Regions from separate parts of the Homo sapiens genome. Here all the other regions are linked to region 1. Evidence: promoter capture Hi-C in human tissues and cell types (Jung and others, 2019). All regions are on one chromosome and are shown on one strand. The core of a region is centred on a gene start or on the middle of the fragment in contact, and the rest is flanking DNA. Distances in the headings are between cores, read along the strand shown.

What was found. The method cuts DNA at HindIII sites, captures the fragments that hold promoters and counts their contacts. A contact is called where the count stands out against the background at its distance.
Region 2: a contact is called between a fragment that was not itself captured here and the fragment with the promoter of FOXB1 in region 1, in 4 of the 25 tissues and cell types used here (heart left ventricle, small bowel, spleen and 1 more).
Region 3: a fragment that was not itself captured here is called in contact with the fragment with the promoter of FOXB1 in region 1 in 3 of the 25 tissues and cell types used here (liver, mesendoderm cells and spleen).
Region 4: a fragment that was not itself captured here is called in contact with the fragment with the promoter of FOXB1 in region 1 in 2 of the 25 tissues and cell types used here (dorsolateral prefrontal cortex and spleen).

What each region holds. Positions count from the first base shown.
Region 1 is chr15:60,002,861-60,005,742 of GRCh38, reverse strand. FOXB1 (forkhead box B1) reads right to left here and starts at 1,432. Exons shown (of 2, transcript NM_012182.3): 1 at 1,100-1,432; 2 at 1-836. The coding sequence starts at 779. RefSeq lists an enhancer at 1,236-1,751. The HindIII fragment of the contact is 14,342 bases long and covers 1-2,882 here.
Region 2 is chr15:59,892,345-59,895,226 of GRCh38, reverse strand. No RefSeq gene overlaps it. Among named protein-coding and RNA genes, the nearest start is that of FOXB1, 110 kb to the left of the region's middle. The HindIII fragment of the contact is 6,082 bases long and covers 1-2,882 here.
Region 3 is chr15:60,103,409-60,106,290 of GRCh38, reverse strand. No RefSeq gene overlaps it. Among named protein-coding and RNA genes, the nearest start is that of FOXB1, 100 kb to the right of the region's middle. The HindIII fragment of the contact is 4,415 bases long and covers 1-2,882 here.
Region 4 is chr15:59,937,711-59,940,592 of GRCh38, reverse strand. No RefSeq gene overlaps it. Among named protein-coding and RNA genes, the nearest start is that of FOXB1, 65 kb to the left of the region's middle. The HindIII fragment of the contact is 4,772 bases long and covers 1-2,882 here.

The DNA.
Region 1 (2,882 bases), core at 183-2,682:
GGGATGGCGGGCAGCGTTTGGCCCGCCGCGTGGCACAGCGGCTTCAACGGCACGCCGTAGGCGCTGTAGTCGCCACTCGCCATGGAGATGGGGGTGGCCGAGTCGATCATGCCGGCGGAGCCATACACGTGTGGCCAGCCGGTGCCCAGCGAGCTGCCCATGGTAGTCAACTGGTTGGGGAGCGGGTAGGCAGCGGGCACCGGCTGCATGGCGGAGAAGGCCAGCCCCCCAGGCATCTTGTATTCCCGCGCGATGATGTTCTCGATGGCGAAGGGGTGCTTGAAGCCCGAGGGCTGCGCCACGCCGCCCAAGTTGTAGGCGGCGGCGGGCATCTGTGGCAGGTGCGTGCCCGAGGCCGCCAGCGCGCTGAGCCGCAGCTTGGCCTGCTGCTGCAGGTACTGCGCCGCGTCGGCTGGCTTGCTGGGCGCCAGGTGGTCGGACTTAAGCACCTTGAAGCGCTTGCGGCGCCGCAGGAAGCTGCCGTTCTCGAACATGTCCCCGCAGCTTGGGTGCAGCGCCCAGAAGCTGCCCTTGCCTGGCTGGTCCGGCCGCCGCGGGATCTTGATGAAGCAGTCGTTGAAGGAGAGGTTGTGGCGCAGACTGTTCTGCCAGCGCTGCGTGTTCTCCCTGTAGTAGGGGAAGCGGTCCATGATGAACTTGTAGATCTCGCTCAGCGGCAGCATCTTCTCGGGAGAGCTCTGGATGGCCATAGCGGTCAGCGAGATGTACGAGTAGGGCGGCTTCTGGTCGCTGTACGTGTTGCGGCCGGGCCGAGGCATCTTCTTCCTCGCCCTCTTCTTGCTCTGGGTCCGCGCGGGCCGGCGGACTGCTCGGATCTGGGAAGGGGGTGGGTAATAGGGAAAGGTAGCATGGATGCACAGAGACACCGGCGGGGTCAGCCAGACCGAGTAACAGACTTCGGGGGTCGGGGGTGGGGCCTGCGGCGCTCGATCAGCCAGCGCCCGGACTCTTTCGCCAGCAACTTTGCGGGCTTAGTGGGCGCGGGAGGGGAAGCCGGCGAACGGCGCGAGGATAGCCGGGAAGTAAGTCGGTACTGGGGCCAGAATAGGGGGCAGGGACGGAACAGAGAGCTGCTCACCTTAAAGTTGCTTCAAGTTGCGCGTCCGCATCCGGGAGGACGCCGCTGCGCGCCGCTTCTCTCTCGGCGCGCACTCGACGCGCACTCCGCGCGCAGCGTCCGGGTCCGGTTGGACTCGGCGCGAACCTGGGCTCTTGAGCTCAGCCCCGCAGCGTCCCGTGCCGCCCGGTCCGCGACGCTCCTGGAGCGTCCTGCGGGCGGCCGAGCTCGGCTGCGGAGTCCCGGCGCGGATGGTGGCAGCGACGTGTTAGGGCTCCGGAGGGCGCTGCTGTGGGCTCCGCGTCTCCGCTGAGCTAGGTGGCTGCCTCCATGTCCTCCCTCGAACCATCTGATAGTTTTAAGCGGTGACAGGAGCAGAAAAGACCCCTGTAGCGGCGCTTCATTAATGTGCCACTTCTTAGCTATCATATGACAATCGCCTTGGGAGGAGGAGGAAGAGGAGGGGGAGCGGGGGCTGCAGAGGGAGGGGACTGAGCGAGAAGGGAGAGCCCGGCCAGCTCTGGTTTCTTTCACACCTATTTACATGGACACCTTGGCCAATAGGAATCACTTCCAGCTCAAGACTGGGCGAGGGGGAAGAGCCTCGGCCACTGGGCAGGCAGCTGGACGCGCCGGCCGGTGTGCGCCGTGTGAAGGTATGAGGAAGCGGCCGCCGCGGAAGAGGGAGCCAGGCGACCACTCACGTTCACAGATGGAGCAGCCGCGCGGATGATGTTTGACATGGAAATTGCTTGGCTGGGGTATTCTGTTTCCTCTGCGTTGTATCCGGTTTGTATCGTTAGGTAACTTTAGGCACGGCTTTCCCCTGAAGCCGACCCTTTTCCTGCGCTTAGCACTACCCGGGGTTGGTTGCATGGGTTATAATAATGAAAACACACCCTTGCCCCCCAGTCCCCGGAGAGTTAGGTCGAAATTTGACTTGACTTTCCTATGCAGCTGCTTCAGCTTTGTATAGTTAGTGTGTAGCTTTGAAAAAGTGATGGGGTTTACAAATACTTTCAAAATGTGATTGGACATCCCCATGTAAGAACCCATTTTGAATGTAACTGTATTGACCAAATTTTTAAAAATTAAAATAGTGTATCTGGGCGAAGAGTCCAGGTATTTGCTTTAAAAGTCCTCCGGGAATTTGGTTGGACACAGGATGGAGGCTCAGGAGCTGTTGGGGCAAATGTTGTGCGGACCTGGGGAGGGCCTGAGTTTGTTTGACACAGTTTATCACCAGGTAAGCCTCAGGGGCTCTCGCTTTTCCCAGGTGGTTTGAAACTTTAGGACTCAGGCACATCCTGGAAGTTTTCATTTTACACCCGGAACTCCCCTTCCCAGCCCTCCCACCCCCCCAACCTCCCACCCCCCATCCCCCAACTGCCGCTTTTTTTGGTATGGAGAACTTATTTAGGATTTAGAGTGTAGCAAAAGCCGCCTGCGATCCCACTAAGACAGCAGTATCTTCTACAACTTGGGGAAAGAACCATAGAGTTTTCCTTCTTGGGGAGCGGGGAATGTGCCTTGGGTCACTCCGCCTGGTGCGAGCAGCAGGCTCCCTTCGGTTCGGATTCGCCTTGGAAGGGTTAAATGAATCATTATTATTATTATCATTATCCTCATCGTCGTCGCTGCCGTCATCATCATCATCATCAAATTGCTATGAAATAAATAGTGAGTCGACCCCGCCTGCATGCACGCACTCTATAAGTACACACCAGGAGTTCCCACGGGTTTCTGCACATTCTCCGACCTTTAAGGTTTTTAAAAGACATTCATTTTACTGCGTTGTTAAAAA
Region 2 (2,882 bases), core at 278-2,777, 110 kb after region 1:
GCTGTATTATAGGTTCCTCAAAGACAAAGACCCATCTCAGCTTGTTCAATATTAGGTTACCAGTACCTATTACAGGATATGTTCAAAAAGTATTTGCTAAATGAACTGTTGTGTAAATTTATGTTTGTGATGCAATGCCTTGCCACAAGAATCTAATATCATGCCATGAATGCACGTCAGAGTTACTGGCTCATAGTATGTCAGGCATTGGAGGAAATAGCTATTTAAGGACATAACTTTTCTTCCCTAAAGGGGAATTGAATTGAAACTAATACATAGTGTCTCAAGACTTCTGAGTACAGAGTAGATTCAAGAAACTTTTTTTGCCTGTTACCTGAGGACACCAGGCTGGATGTGGCAAGAATGAAGAGGTAACTAAGACTCAGTCCATACCCTAAAAGAACTTAATGTCTAGTAGTGGAGTTCATCAAGGAAGCAAAAAAAGTTACAAAGCAGAATATGATATGTTTTAAGAAGGCAACAAGCGTAGCTCATGCCTGTAATCCCAACACTTTGGGAGACCGAGGTGGGTGGATCACCTGGGGTCAGGAGTTTGAGACCAGACTGGCCAACATGGTGAAACCCAGTCATTACTAGAAATACAAAAATTAGCTGGGCATGGTGACTTATGCCTGTCATCCCAACTACTTGGAAGGCTGGGACAGGAGAATCGCTTGAACCCAGGAGGCAGAGGTTGCAGTGAGCCAAGATCACGCCATTGCACTCCAGCCTGGGCGAGAAAGCAAGACTCCATCTCAAAAAAAAGAATAAATAAATAAAATTTAAAAAAAAAAGCAAAGAACAGTGAAGGAATAAAGCATGACAATAGTGGTAGCTATTATTTTAGGTTTGGGTTATGGCAGCACCTCACCTATGGTATCAATTTCTACATCAGTTAAGGTTAAGTTAAACTGCTATAACCAAATGACCAAAAGAGAAAATGGCTGCAAAAATATAGGCCCTATGTTGCCCAGGCTGGTCTCAAACCCCTGTGCTCAAGTGATCCTCTCACCTTGGCCTCCCTAAGTGCTGGGATTACAAGGGTGAGCCACCACACCTGGCCCTACTCATCTTTAAAGCCCAACTCAAGGGTGACCACCTATGAGACAACGTCCCTGGTTCTCTCTTTTCCTTTCCTCGCCTCTATGCCCACAGCACTTTGTTTGAAATGCTGGGAGGACATTCCATAGCATATTTCAGTTAGTTGTTATTCCATACTACATCAACCATAAACTACTTAAAGGCAAGGACAAGGTATTATTCATCTTCATTCTTTGTTCTTGGTCCACACCTGGCATGGAGCAAGCTGCCTGTAAATAGTTGTTGAATTAAATGAGTGTCTGTTCCTGGGTCCAACACACTCCCTGTACTTGAGGGAGCAGAGCCAGTTGGGTGAGGGGAGAGGTGTTTCTGATGGCAGCCTCTTCTATGTAATTATCCCTTCCCAGTGAATAATGGGGCCTCAGCTCTGTGTCTGATTCTTTGATGAAGGTGAAACTATTTAATCAGGTTTGGTTGCTCATCTCATCATCTTCCCACATCACGCCCTTCCTGACGAGCTCATTAGCTGGAAGAAAAATTGATGACCTCGTTAGTTCTGCACAGTGGTTCACTTAGGACAAATTGGAGCTTCAGAATGTTGCTCAACTCTGACCCATGGTGGGACAAGGTCTCATGCTCAGGATTGTTTGGATACACCATGCCCTTGGTGCCTTTATGTGACAGTTTGCTTGGAAACTTTCTGCTTGAAATAGTGTGTTTTCCAATGTAAATATTCACCTTTTAAGTTCCTCCTCATTCTGCTCAGTGAGGAGTACACCACTCCCTCACAGTGCCAAGGCTGGATTTACCTTCTCTACACCCCAACCCCCACCTCAAATTCTTTGTCTCTCTCACCCACTGAAATCTTATCATCCTCCAGGTCCAGTTTACTTTCTGTCCCCCTCTTCATCCAGGAAGTATTCTTTATCCAGGAAGTGTTCAATGACATCCTTGGGGACATAATTTAGTTGAATTTGGAAGCAGCACCTGTTGGGATCGCAACTAAAGGACCAGGGGAGGAGGAATGATTCAGGACCATGGACAGAATCTGAGACAGTCTGGCTGTGGCTGGGACTGCTGGCCCCTGTAAGCTTGGCCAAGAATTAAAATACTGAATCCACAGAAGTGGAAGATGTGGTCAATTCCAGTGCTGTCCAGGGGCCCCATTTCATTAAGCAGAGCATGGTGGCCAGAGGAGGCAGGAAGGTGAGTGGTCCTCGGGGTGAGGGGTAGAAGTTGAAGGATTGTGAGCCTAGCCGATGCTCCATTCCTTCTGTCTCAATTGTTCTTTCTTCCTCTCTAGCTTTACTCTATTTTTCTGACAAACTATTTGGTTTTCAAAATCCAGAAAGGCTGTATTTCTCTAGAAAGGCTTTCCTGCCTTCCTCCCTGATGTTACCAGCCACTCCTATCTCTGTGTTAGCTCTTCATCCTGAACACGTTTAATGCTGTTCTTGGCACACACTGTGTTGTAATTATTGATTGAAAGGCAGGTTTCTTCTGCGTTCCAGAGTGCTCTTGAAAGTACAGATTTTGTTTCTTTCATTTCTGTATCCTGTATGTGCTCTGTGCCAAGCATGAGCCTGCTATCTAATAGATGGTAAATAATTATCTGTTAAATGAAAGAATGAGTGAATGGTGGGCCTCCCGCTCGCAGGTATGGGGTGTGCTCCTGGAAGAAGGAGTGAGCATAGGCCCAATAAAGCCTCAAGACCCCTGCTGATTGGCTGAAAGTCCAAGGCCCAGCTTTGGTAATACTGGCAGAGTGGAGTGTAATACAGAGAAACTGAGGCAGAAGGTCAATCTCACAGCCTGAATCAGCACTGTATCTTGTAAAAATG
Region 3 (2,882 bases), core at 236-2,735, 100 kb before region 1:
TATATTACCTAATTGGGGGTATTGTTGTAAAATTTATCAATATGTCATAGTAATATCACATAAAATGTACCTAGTGTCATCACCATCATCACCAACAGACATTTGAACACTCAGATGTGCCAGACATAGTAACTGATGAGGTTACAAACTGTGACCAGTGCACTGTCCCTGTGCATATGAAGTCTTCAGTGTTGTGGGGGTGGCAGAGATAAACAGCCAAATGCACCATAGGAATTTGCATGAAGGTATGTCAAAGGTATTGTGCAGCACAGAAGAAGTACTGCTTATCTACTTACGGTTTCCCTCTCATCTTTGTTGGATTGGACCAACTCATGGCATTCTCCACATCTCAGGCTCAATGTCACGCTTTCCCTGACACATTTGGCCATGTGCCCTTGCAGTTACCATTTTGTGGCATTCATCACAGAGGTAATTACTTACTAATGTGTGTTTCAGACTCATAACCTCATGGAGCCAATGACTATTTCTGCCATGTTCCTTGCTGTATCCTCACGCCTAGTGCAGTGCCTGGCACATTGCAGGGGTTTAAGACATATTTGTGTAGTTAAATCAAGAACTATAAGGGGGTTGGCGGGGTTGCATGAGGGAGTAGTTGAGAAAGTGAAAAGACTCTAGGGGTGAGATAATGAGGGGCCTTTTTTGATGAAAAGAGTTTGGACTTCAAATAGCAGAGAATGGTGAACCATTGAAATATTTTATTTTATTTTTATTTTTTTGAGACAGGCTCTGGCTCTGTCATCCAGCTCACCATAGCCTCAACATGCTGGGCTCAAGCAATCCTCCCACATCAGCCTCTGGAGTAGCTGGGGCTACAAGCTCGCACCACCACACCCAGCTAATTTTTAAAAAAGTTTTCGTAGAAATAAGGTCTCACTATGTTGCCCAGGCTGGTCTTGAACTCCTGGGCTCAAGTGATCCTCCCTTGGCCTCCCAAAGTGCTGGGATTACAAGCACAAGCCACTCCGTTAGCCTACTGAGAGATGTTAAACAAGGGATATAATTCGGTTGGAGCTTAGAAAGTTCATTCTGGCAGCAGTGTAGTATATTATGGGGTGTATGTGATGGGGTGGGGGGATGAAAGACATTCAAGAGTTTAGTGAGGAGGCTCTTGCTCAAGACCAGGTGAGAAAACACGAGGACTCAAATAAAAGCAATAGCAGTGGGGATGGAGCAAGCTGTTTGAGAGTCAGAATGAATGTGACTTAGTGAACAAGTAGATGTGAGAAGTAAGGAAGAAGAAGAATTCTAGATTGATTTCCAAGTTTCTACCTTGTATGTGGGATGTTGGAACCCATTGTACTTGAAAGATGAGCTTTGGCATCAGACAGCTAGGATGTGACATCAGGCATCATTCGCCTTAGTTTTTCCATCTGTAATGAAAATTTCAATAGCTCCCTTGGGGGTTGGTGTGGTATGAAATGTTTGTCACTGAGCAGAGACAACACTTCAGTTTGTCCATGTGTTCCCACCTCTGTAATTGAGCCTTGGCTAAAAGAATAAAAATAGATTCAATGGGGAAGACAGAGAACTTGGATTTGCAAACTTTAAGTTTTAGACATCTTTGTGGTACTCACCTTTTGAATACACAATAAAAGATCTTAAAACTAAAACTGAGGCTAACAACATTGTAAACTTCTACAGTTCTTGTAAGAGATTTTTCATATAAGAAGCCATGCATTCTCCCCCAACCCCCCAACCCCCCAACCCCATAGACTTTTGGAACCTATTACAGACCGAACAAGTTGGAACATGTTTGCCTTGTGGACCATTAGAAAGAGCATAGACTTTGGAATCAAATCTGACAGAGGGGGAATGTCTACTTCTGGCTCAGATTTCTCATTAAAGAGTGGAATTGATGGTTGGTGTCACTCAGGATGGTGTGTGATTAAGATACCTCCCAGTGGAAAATCTACGAGTGTGCTTGAATCATATAGTCACTCAGTAAATATACATTTCTTTCCCTCAAAGTTCCAAATCACAACAAAAATATTACTTAAGAAAAATTTTAAAGAGCCACTTAAACTCCAATGGACTGACCTGCAGTCAGTACACCTGCTTTCAGCCAAAGCTCCATTTCCTACAACTATGCTACTTGACAAAAAGTGTTTATAATTATTATACATGTTGGCCAAAGATAATATAAGATATGGAATCAAAGGCCAACTCAGTAACATTTGGGGCAAATTAGAATACTAAAATAAAAATGCGTGTTAGACTTTGAAGTCAACATGAAGAGTTAAGATAAAAAATGTAATTCATTTATTTTTCAGTTATCCAGAAAATAGTTTGTCACGGTTCCTCACAACTCCCAGCACTTTGCATAGTTAAGATTAGAGAGAAAAATCTGTATTGATTTGCTTTGGTACTAGTTTTGTTTGGTGACATCATCTCTAATGTCATCCTTATCACAAGGGTGGACAACTTTGCAGAAGATGTTGCTTTTCTAGCAGGGCAAGAGGAGAATAAGTGTCTTTTAAGAGCCTCCAACCTTTTAATTTATAAAGTTGAGAACTATTACCAATATTTAATCTTTAGCAATCAGTTCCTGTTTTAATCCGCAGTAAAAAAGGGGTTGGCTGTTTGTTCATGAACTTTTTACAAGCTTAAATTCCTATGACAAAAGTCAAATTAAACAATAGATGCTACTCAACGATACAATTTTTTAAAAAGACAAAAATTTAAACATTTTTATAACGAGAACTCTAGTATTTTCACTGACGTCCACTATAAGCAAATATTTTGGAGTATATCACAAATGATTTAGGTTATGGTGAGGATTAGAATTCTTTTCCTTAGTGGAGGAATTCCAGGCAGAATTCGGCATTTCCTCTGTCAAATTAGTCTGACTCCAAAGCCCATGC
Region 4 (2,882 bases), core at 97-2,596, 65 kb after region 1:
TGCTCTAAGACGCCTCCACTGTAATCGCTCCCTAAATTAACTCTCGCCTCTTATTTAACACTAAGTTAAGGCTTTAAAATGAGCTGTGATTTGTAGTAGGCAGCACAGCAGTTGCTGAATTGTGGAGTCACACCTATAAATAAATAAATATAAGTATATATACACACATACATATAATTTTATAAATTCCCTTGTCATTTAAATTCTGGATTATTTTTAAAATGTGAAAGTAAAATTTGCTTAACAGAAACAGCATAATTGGCTTTTTTTTTTTTTTCTTGAGACACAGTCTCACTCTGTTGCCCAGGCTAGAGTGCAGTGGCACAATCTTGGCTCACTGCAATCTCCGCCTCCGAGGTTCAAGCGATTCTCCTGCCCTAGCCTCCAGAGTACCTGGGATTACAAGTGTGCACCACCAACGCCCGGGTAATTTTTGTATTTTTAGTGGAGATGGGGTTTTACCATGTTTGCCAGGCTGGTCTCGAACTCCTGACCTCAGATGATCAACCCGCCTCGGCCACCCAAAGTGCTGGGATTATAGGTGTGAGCCACTACACCCAGCTAGTTTTGCTTTTACTGTCATGTACAATTAAATTTTTTCCTTATTGCCAGTCTTTTGTTCTGAAAAATAGTTTCTGAAAAGCTTAAATCACTACACTCCTGCCCCCACACTCTCTTGTTTTATATCGCCTTGATGTATTTTCTTACGCAGTGTGCCTCTTTTTTTTTCAAGGGTAGGATGGGGTGGGAGAGAGAGGTCTGACTCCTGATCAAAGGGGGTTGCATGATTCCCTGTATTTTGCGTTTCCATCCAATCATTGCGACCCTGACAATCAGGTGACAAGCAGCAAGCTGGTAAGAATTCATCAGAAATTAACCCAGAGAAGGGGAGCTATAAAGGTAGTGCCCACAAGAGGAGGTGAGGCCCTGGCCCAAATCAGGAGGCCACAGTGGTGTCAGCGCAGGTGACACCTCAAAGCGTCAGCCAAGGATTCAACCCCTTGTAGACATGGTCTTTAGGACACTTCCATTAGGATTTGACGAGTGACTTCTGCAAGTTTGACGCAAACTTAAGCAAAAATTCAGACTTCAAGTTATGAATATACTTTTTGTTCTCTAGCAAAATATGGCTATGTAATTTTAAGTATAAATTAAAAAGTAACTTAAAAGACATCTGAAAATGGTCTTTTGGCCTTAACCAAATGATGACAATATAAACAGCCATGAGTTTTGGCTTCCTCCAAAAGGACAGGCAGAGGCTAAGCGCATTTGGTCTGCAGTTCCTGCCACCTGTCCTGCCTCAACTCTCTGGTTACAGCACAGGCAATAGCTCGAGAGAGACTGGTCTTAAAGCCAGTTATCAGATGCCAAGGGAAAGCCAAAAGGAAATGAACAAAAGAAGTATAAGAAACATATAAAACTGTCAAACTTCTCAAGTCCAGGCTAGCTGCTTCCTAGCCATGCCCCAAGCCCCACCACTCCACTGGTCCACTGCTTGGCCTCCTTCCCTGCCAGCTCCCTGCCTGTCTTTTCCTCATGGGTGTCATCTTCTCACCTACAGGCAAGTGGAGCTCTTAAACGACTGGCGAAGAAGGTTCTTATGTTCCTATCTCATAGAATGACCTATGGGCATCTCTCTGAGAATTTTCGCTCCGACTGGATGTTCTCCATCCCTCACCCCATATGGAAAACTAATTCAGAGTTAGAAATAGAAAGATGATTTCCTTGAGCTGCCACCACACCCAGACCCAACCCCAGCCCTAAAAGGAATGTGACTTATATGGAGTTACCAAATAATAGATCAAAACTCCTCCAGTCTGTCTGCTGCCCACCTCTCGCAATAGAGGCAAATATCCTTGCCCATTTAGTTCCAAAATTAAACTTTACTTCCATATTATAATCACCACTCATTGTGCACAGATTATTTGGACACTGTAGAAAAGTAGAGGGAAGGGGGAAACTCAATCATAGTTTCACACTTAGAGACAAAACTGGTACACTGACTTCCAGTCATTCCTTTATATAAGGTGTAAATTTTTTCCAACATACTAGAAACTGCTTCCCCCTAATGACCAGAGATGCAATTTTAATTTAACATTATAACATACATATTTCTCTTGTTAATATAAATTTGTAAATGCACTTAACCGTATTATATTTATATAATAATGAACATACTAATACATTAATAATTATAGTATATAAACATATATTTATAAATATATTTATAAATATAAGCTTGTAAATATATTTCATATCTTTGTAAATGTATTTAACAGATGTATGATAATTCACTGGATATAGCATAGTTTACTTAACCTAAATGAGTCAAAATAAGGGAATCTCTTTCCAATTTTTCACTGTTATTATTAAGGCTGTAACTAACATAAATGCATAAACATTTTTAGGTATGTAGGCTAGTTTCTTTACAAAAGGCTCCTAGAAGGGATAGAGATGGGTCAAAGGGTATAAACTTTTTAAGGCTTTTTTTTTTCTTTTTTTTCTTGAGACAGGCTCTCGCTCCGATTGCCCAGGCTGGAGTGCAGTGCTGTGATCTCAGCTTACAGCAGCCTCACCCTCCTGGGCTCAGGTGATCCTCCCACCTCAGCCTCCTGAGTAGCTGGGACCACAGGTTTGTGCCACCATGCCCGGGTCATTTTTTTGTATTTTTAGTAGAGATGGGGTTTTGCCATGCTGCCCAGGCTGGTCTTGAACTCCTGGTCTCAGGCAATCCACATGCCTTGGCCTCCCAAAGTGCTGGGATTACCTGCATGAGTCATTGCACCTGGCCCTTTTGCAGGCTTCTTGAGGCTCATTGCCAAAGTTCCCTGGCCTTTTTAAAGGGACAGTAAGAAAACTGTTCTGTGGCAGTCACAGAGGCT